Regions from separate parts of the Homo sapiens genome. Here region 2 is linked to region 1. The links are contacts of gene promoters, found by promoter capture Hi-C in human tissues and cell types (Jung and others, 2019). All regions are on one chromosome and are shown on one strand. Each heading gives the region's core, a stretch centred on a gene start or on the middle of the fragment in contact. The rest is flanking DNA. Distances are from core to core; before and after follow the strand shown.

Region 1 (4,286 bases), core at 1,058-3,557:
CCCAGATCTCACAACAGATCCAGCTCGTTCCACCACAAAAGCAATTCCAAATCTCACTTGAATCCCAGGTTAGACCCCTTGGAATCTCTCACCAAGCTGAAGGGCTGCCCCAGAAGAGCTCATGGGAAAGGCCACGTGGAAGGAGCACCCATTTTATTGCTGCTTGTTCTGATGCTATTTCACTATAGGACGCTGAGTAACACACCCGCCTCTCCAGGCCTCAGTTTCCTTATCTGTAAAATGAAGTTAAGAATATATTATGAAGAGTTTTGGAAGAGGCCCATGATGACCGAGGGAAAAGAAGCAGTGAGAGGTCTCAGAAGGCCTTCTAAAAGAACAGAGTTCTGTGCTCCCTGGAGAATGATGGGAAACACAGGAGGAATAGTGACAATACGAGATGTTAAATTACTGTAGAAATTCTTAGATCTGAGTCTGAACTCCCTCTCCAAATATTCCATTATAATCCAAGACTCTATAGTTTCTACCAAAAAGTAGGTGCCTTCAAGCAGGGAGTGATCATTTGAATCTAGTTCTCTCCTGGGAATCAGTGGTTCTAACTTGGCTGCACGTTTGGATGACCAGCGGAGCTTGTGACATGCAGATGTTCAGGTCCACCCTCGGAGATCGCTAAATGGGGTGTTGCCCGAACACTTGGGATATTAAGAGTTTCTTCATATGATTCTAATGTGCAGACAAAATGGAGAGCCACTTCCCAGAGCTTCAAGTTATTCATTTTCTGGTCTGAAGTTTAACAAAGAAAAAAAAAATAAAGAAGCAGTGATGCCCAGTAGCTCTCAAAATTTAATGTGTAAACAAATGAATCTCCTGGGCATCTTGTTAAAATGCAGCTTTCAATTCAGTGGGTCTAGGTTGGGCCTGACAACCTTCTTGGTTGTTTTGTGGTTGCCGTTTTGTTTTTTAAGGCCTTAACACTGGAGGGGATTCTGGCCTTCTAAAAAGCTCCCACAGGTGCCCACGCTGCTAACCACAGACTGTGCTTGAATAGCTAGGCTACAGCTTGAATGATTACAGACTTGAACGAGAATTATGGCTCTTCTTGCCAGCTGGGACCTTCAGAAAGAAGTTACTTCACTTCTCTGAGTCTGGGTTTTCTTGTCTATAAAATTTAGGCCAGCAATAGTAACTTTATCACAGAATTCTTGTGATGCATAAATGAGCTAATGCATTCAATTTGTTTAGCACTGTACAACAAATGTTAGCTTTTTGCTAGGATAGCCAGCATTCGCGGAATGCTTACTATGTGGCAGGAATTTTCTAAGTGCATTCGTGTATTAATTCATTCAAGTCTCAGAACAACACGGTGAGGTAGGTACTATTATTTCATCATTTCCATTTTACAGATGAAGAAACTGAAGCGCAGAGAGGTGGAGTTCCTTGGTCTACAGTGGCACCTCATTGTAGCTAAGCTGGTGTTTGAACTCAGGGAGAATTTGGGCTCCTTACCAGGATCCCTCGCCAAGGACAGAGGTCAGTGCAACGAGTCGAGGGTTTGCCCTTTGAAATGGGCTAGGACCGGCAGGTGGCAGACTAGGGCTGCTTGAGTTCAAAGACCGCTTCCAAGACCAAGCCCGGAGCCAGCTCTGTGCTAAGCGTTCCATCACACAACCGCGGACAGCTTCTTCGGCTTCTTCAAACTCTCCTTTCCCTCCCCCGCACCCTAGGGTCTTCGCCCAGAATCCATCAGGAAAAATAGCCCCACATAACAGGTTCAAATCTAACCTCCCCAAGACAAAACCACGTCCGCAGGGAAAGAAGCGAGTAAAGCGAGTTTTCTGTAACTCCCCTTTAACCCAGGAGCGCAACCAGCCCGGGAAATCTACAAATCTCTCTTTAGTTCAGCAAAGGGCTGGGAGCCTAAGCCAAGGGGGAGAAAGTTGGGGAATCCCTCTTGAATTCCCCAGAACACTTAGGTGGCGCCGGGCTTTGGTGCACGCGCGCAGGGCATGCGGACAGGCACCGGAGAGGCTCTATTTTGGGCATTACTTCGGGAAGGCGGATCTTCTTGCAGGGTCCGCTGATAGCGGGTGGCAAATGAATATGAGGGGCAGTGCAAAGGGTGGGGGTTAACCGGGCGGTTTCCATGGCGCCCGGGGCGTGGGGGAGGAATGCATCCCGCAAGCTGTGGCGAAACAACTGCTCTGCCCGGAGGACCGGGCTCGAGAAGGCAAGAGACACTGGGTCGGGGGTGGAGTGGTGGCGGGGGGGTTGGGGGCGGAAGAAGCCAGGCAGGACGGGGGCGGGGCGGTCACGTGTGCCCGACTGGGCGAGGCCCCAAGCTGGCCCGGGAGAGGACTCTGCGGGCGAAGTGGCTGCGCAAGGAGAGAACTTTTCCTGCACAAGGAACGCCTCGTGGGGAGACCCAAGGCAGGAGCGGTCCGGAGCCGGCTGCGGCGTGTGCGGCCGGCCTTGGGACAGCGATCGCCGCGGGTGGCAACAGAGAGCCCCAAGCAAAAGTGGGAGCAGGAGCTTGGAGGTGAGCACAGGAAGCCCCACTTGAGGCTTTTACGCAGCCTCTAGTCTCTGTTTCTTCTGGAATAGGCAAGTGTCCTTTCAACTCTAAGAGACCAGCAGAGGCCACTGTCCCTTAAGACTGCCGGAGTCCTCACCACTTCTCCAGGATTCCAGAGGAGACTGTGGCGATGGTGAATGAAGGTCCCAACCAGGAAGAGAGCGATGACACCCCTGTGCCGGAGTCCGCACTCCAAGCGGACCCCAGCGTCTCGGTCCATCCCAGCGTCTCGGTCCATCCCAGCGTCTCCATCAACCCCAGCGTCTCTGTCCACCCCAGCAGTTCGGCCCACCCCAGTGCCTTAGCCCAACCCAGTGGCTTGGCTCACCCCAGTAGCTCGGGCCCTGAGGACCTCAGCGTGATCAAGGTGAGCAGGCGCCGTTGGGCCGTGGTCCTGGTGTTTAGCTGCTACTCCATGTGCAACTCCTTTCAGTGGATCCAGTACGGCTCCATCAATAACATCTTCATGCACTTCTACGGTGTCAGTGCCTTTGCCATTGACTGGCTGTCCATGTGCTACATGCTGACTTACATCCCTCTGCTCCTGCCAGTGGCTTGGCTGCTGGAGAAGTTCGGCCTGCGCACCATTGCTCTCACTGGCTCGGCTCTCAACTGCCTGGGGGCCTGGGTGAAGCTGGGCAGCCTGAAGCCGCATCTCTTTCCGGTCACCGTGGTGGGCCAGCTCATCTGCTCTGTGGCCCAGGTTTTCATCCTGGGCATGCCCTCCCGCATCGCTTCCGTCTGGTTCGGGGCTAATGAGGTTTCAACAGCCTGCTCCGTGGCTGTCTTTGGCAATCAGGTAGGTAGAACAGTTTGTGAATGTTCCCAGGGGCGTGTGTTAGATTGCACCTAACTATTGGGTGTGGTAGGCTATAATTTGCTGATTGTCCAACAGTGTTTGTGACTCTGGGTGACAGTAACTGGGTGTGACAGGCAGTGATTGTGATGCTGTAAGAGAGGCGGGAAACAAAAGCAGGGGGACCTGCTCTTTCATCCACAGTTGCTCTTGCCCCAGCCAAAAGCATGCTTCTAGAACATACTATACCTTCGCTGTGTCGTTCTCGAACCTGTGTCAGTCCACCAACTTAGACCTGTAATTTCAGGAATGCTCTTCTGTCTGGCAGCAGCCCCTGGGCATCAGACTATTCTGGTGTCATCAGAACTTGGCAGTGCTTTCAGTTGGACCAACCAGCTTTCCTAGAGTGCAGTATCTCCTCTACTGCATAGAATTGCAAAGCCATGCCTGGTGGTGTTTGGCACTGCTTTTACCTTGTTTTACACACAGCTGAAGCCAGGACAGTGGGAGCAGTGCTTTGTGCCAAACTCCTTGCCTGGGATTTAGAGCCAAGTCCAGCAGGATGGAGTAGAAATCTCACTCTGAGTTTCCATGGCCTAGAAAGGGTAGTTCATGTCTTAATCTTTTTCTCTTTCTTTCTTATTGGAAGGAGAAGCTCAAATTCTTTGCATCTCAATGTGGTTATGATCCAGAAAGCTGGGCAGGTTGTGAACCTGAATGCCGTCTCCAAATACTCGAAGCAAATATTTATGGGAATATTTAAAGCAAACGTCCTTTAGCCAGACCACTGCCTCCCAGTCTCGCATCTTTCCAAGCACGTACAGTCCTGGCTGTGTGTTTAACAAAGGATTGGTAATCCTGTCTCACACGTCCATGTGAAGAGACCACCAAACAGGCTTTGTGTGAGCAACAAGGCTGTTTATTTCACCTGGGTGTAAGCAGGCTGAGTCTGAAAAAGGA
Region 2 (2,500 bases), core at 1-2,500, 380 kb after region 1:
TCACTCATTCTTTTTAACAAGTGGTCTGGTCGGTCAGCCCCAGTGCCTCAGATGGCATGAGCCTGCTCCATACCGTGCTGTGGGTTGTGTCTGCACTGCGGAGGTATGGGCAAGGGCCTGAGCAGAAGTTGGCATAGTAGCCCTTAGGTTCATGGACCCACTTCCAGCCCAGATCCTGTCGGAAGTCAATGTAGAGGGGGCGCACACAGCAGTTCTCCTCCAAGTTGCTACAACAAAAAACATTTATAGAAAATCAACTTAAAACCACCAATAAAAGAAACTTCATGAATGCTCTCATATTCTCCCTTGGAGTCCTTTCATGCCATCATAGGTGGCTCTGATCAATGGAATCCCAGGTTCAAGGGCATGGGGCAGAAGAAACCAGAAAGGCACATTCATGTGTTAAAGACCAGGATCCCAAGGATGTAAGAAACAGAGATAAATGCTGCATGAGGAAGAGTAAAGAGGCAAAGGTGGCCCTGCACCCTTTTCTATCACAATACAAAGCAGTGCTATGAAGCGCTCCACATAAAACCAAGCACTGAATGTTATTAGCCAACTCAGCTTTGTTGAGGTTGGTTTTATTTTTACCCTCCTAATGTGCACCCAGACAGAAATCAATTCTAAGTTTATGCAGCTTGACTACTATAGTAGGTGACTGCTGAGACTCAATCCAAAGGCCATTTAGCCAAATAAGGCATATCCTTCTATTAGAACCGTGGTTCAACAGATCACCCAAATGTGATTATCAGGCCCCTTCAATTCTGTTGCCTACAGAGATCATTTGGCAATAATACCGCTTGCCAAGTGGACAGCTAGCCTCTGCTTTAATATCTGCTGAGACTTAGAACTTGCTACTTCCAAAGGCAGCTATTAGCCAAAATCTGGCTTCTTGTGGGTTCCAAGGGTGAACCATGGCAGACACCATTGGTTATCTATTCAATAACCATTCCTAACTCCCTTCTCCCTTGTGACATCCCATTACAGAGTCGAAAACACCAGATGCTCCTTTTCCTGTCCTCCCTTGAGAGTAGCGGTGGTCATGTGACCCAGTAATGACCCATCAGACAAGGAGAAGTATGCAGGGGGTAAGGGCAAGTTCTGGCAAAGATATTCGATTATTTATAAAAGTGACAGATGGAAGAAGAAAGCTTCTGGCTCTTCCCCTTCCCTCATTCCTTCTTGTCTTAAATGTGGACAAGGTGCCTGAAGCCCTAGCAATCACTTGTGACCATAAGGAAAAGGATGAAAAGCCAACATACTAAGCATGGCAGACTGGAAAGAGAGAAAGCCTGAGTCTTCGGTGGCATCATTAAGCAGCCAGCCCACCCTAACCCTGCTGCTACAGGCCTCTTGTGAACAAGAAATCACTATGATTAAAGTCACTGGCCAAGATCATTCGTTCCTAACTGATTCGTTCCTAACTGATAACTGATTCGTTCCTAACTGATTTGTTCCTAACTGATGGAATAAATAAATCTACATGCCAGCCTTTGTGGCAACTACCTTGCCTCTCCTATACCTTGCTGTTGAGCTGTTCCCCCAACTGAACATCCCTAGTTTCCCAAGCCCAACCATCCTCATAAGACATGGTTTCCAGATCTAAATATTTCCCAATTCGTTCTCCCCAGCTTCATTTCGGCATCCTCTGAGGCCAGATGGACTCACTCACTCATGCTCCTTCCTTTACCTGCAGTGCTTCCCCTCCTGGATCCCTTCATCCCCAAACCTCATCCTTGAAGCCTCTGCTCAAATTCCACACCCTTCTGAAGCCTTTCCTGTGTCCATAGGTGAACTCATTGCTCCCAGTTAAAGCACTTAATCCTTCGGACCCTCTCATGGGCGTGATCATCTTCTCCCTTTTAGTAGTTGGCATGCATACTTTATCCTCCCTTTATAAATGAGCAGTGAAACTGCTCCTGAGTAAGAGAAGCTGGGTCTTTTCTATCTCTCTATTGTGGCTACCCAGTAATTTCTGAATTCATTTGTTAATTTCTCTAGCTCCAACTTTCCGTTCAAATGGAGACCATTCTATTTGCCTCCATCCAGTAGCATCCTTGGACCCTTCATAGGGAACTAACTGAGCACTTCTTTAATGGAAACTCCTACATTAATCTCACACATACACTCTACAAGTGCTTAAAACATGGAAATCATGGAGAGGCTTTGACCAAGCCTCTCCAATCCAAACTATTTTAGCAACACTCCTCCTCACAGAGTTTTCCTCATTTACTTCAGCCAGCTCCTTCCAGAGTTAGCCTATGGAAAAACAGTGGGACTCCCAGGAAAACAGAAAGAGATTTCACAGAGAAAATCTCTGTGAGAGATTTTCAGTCTTCTTCCTGGAGATGTTTGTGAATAGCATCAGGGACCCTCTGTTGAGTGTGGCTTGGCTCTGGGGCCTGACCTAGCCATTGGGCAGTAGGCAGGCAGTAGATGTTGGTTCCCATGTGGGCCCAGTCTCACCGGAAGCAGTAATTGGTGTCCAAAGCCCGCTTCT

Evidence for each region. Contacts are between HindIII fragments. The study calls those that stand out against the background at their distance.
Region 2: a contact is called between a fragment that was not itself captured here and the fragment with the promoter of FLVCR2 in region 1, in 1 of the 25 tissues and cell types used here (hippocampus).

The regions. Positions count from the first base shown.
Region 1 is chr14:75,576,313-75,580,598 of GRCh38, forward strand. FLVCR2 (FLVCR choline and putative heme transporter 2) reads left to right here and starts at 2,308. Exons shown (of 10, transcript NM_017791.3): 1 at 2,308-3,329. The coding sequence starts at 2,661. FLVCR2-AS1 (FLVCR2 antisense RNA 1) reads right to left here and starts at 3,276. Exons shown (of 3, transcript NR_110552.1): 1 at 1,465-3,276; 2 at 93-233. RefSeq lists an enhancer at 1,414-1,473 and a silencer at 2,184-2,253. The HindIII fragment of the contact is 9,380 bases long and covers 1-4,286 here.
Region 2 is chr14:75,960,850-75,963,349 of GRCh38, forward strand. It overlaps TGFB3 (transforming growth factor beta 3), which reads right to left. Exons shown (of 7, transcript NM_003239.5): 5 at 2,467-2,500; 6 at 74-227. Among named protein-coding and RNA genes, the nearest start is that of TGFB3, 20 kb to the right of the region's middle. The HindIII fragment of the contact is 7,313 bases long and covers 1-2,500 here.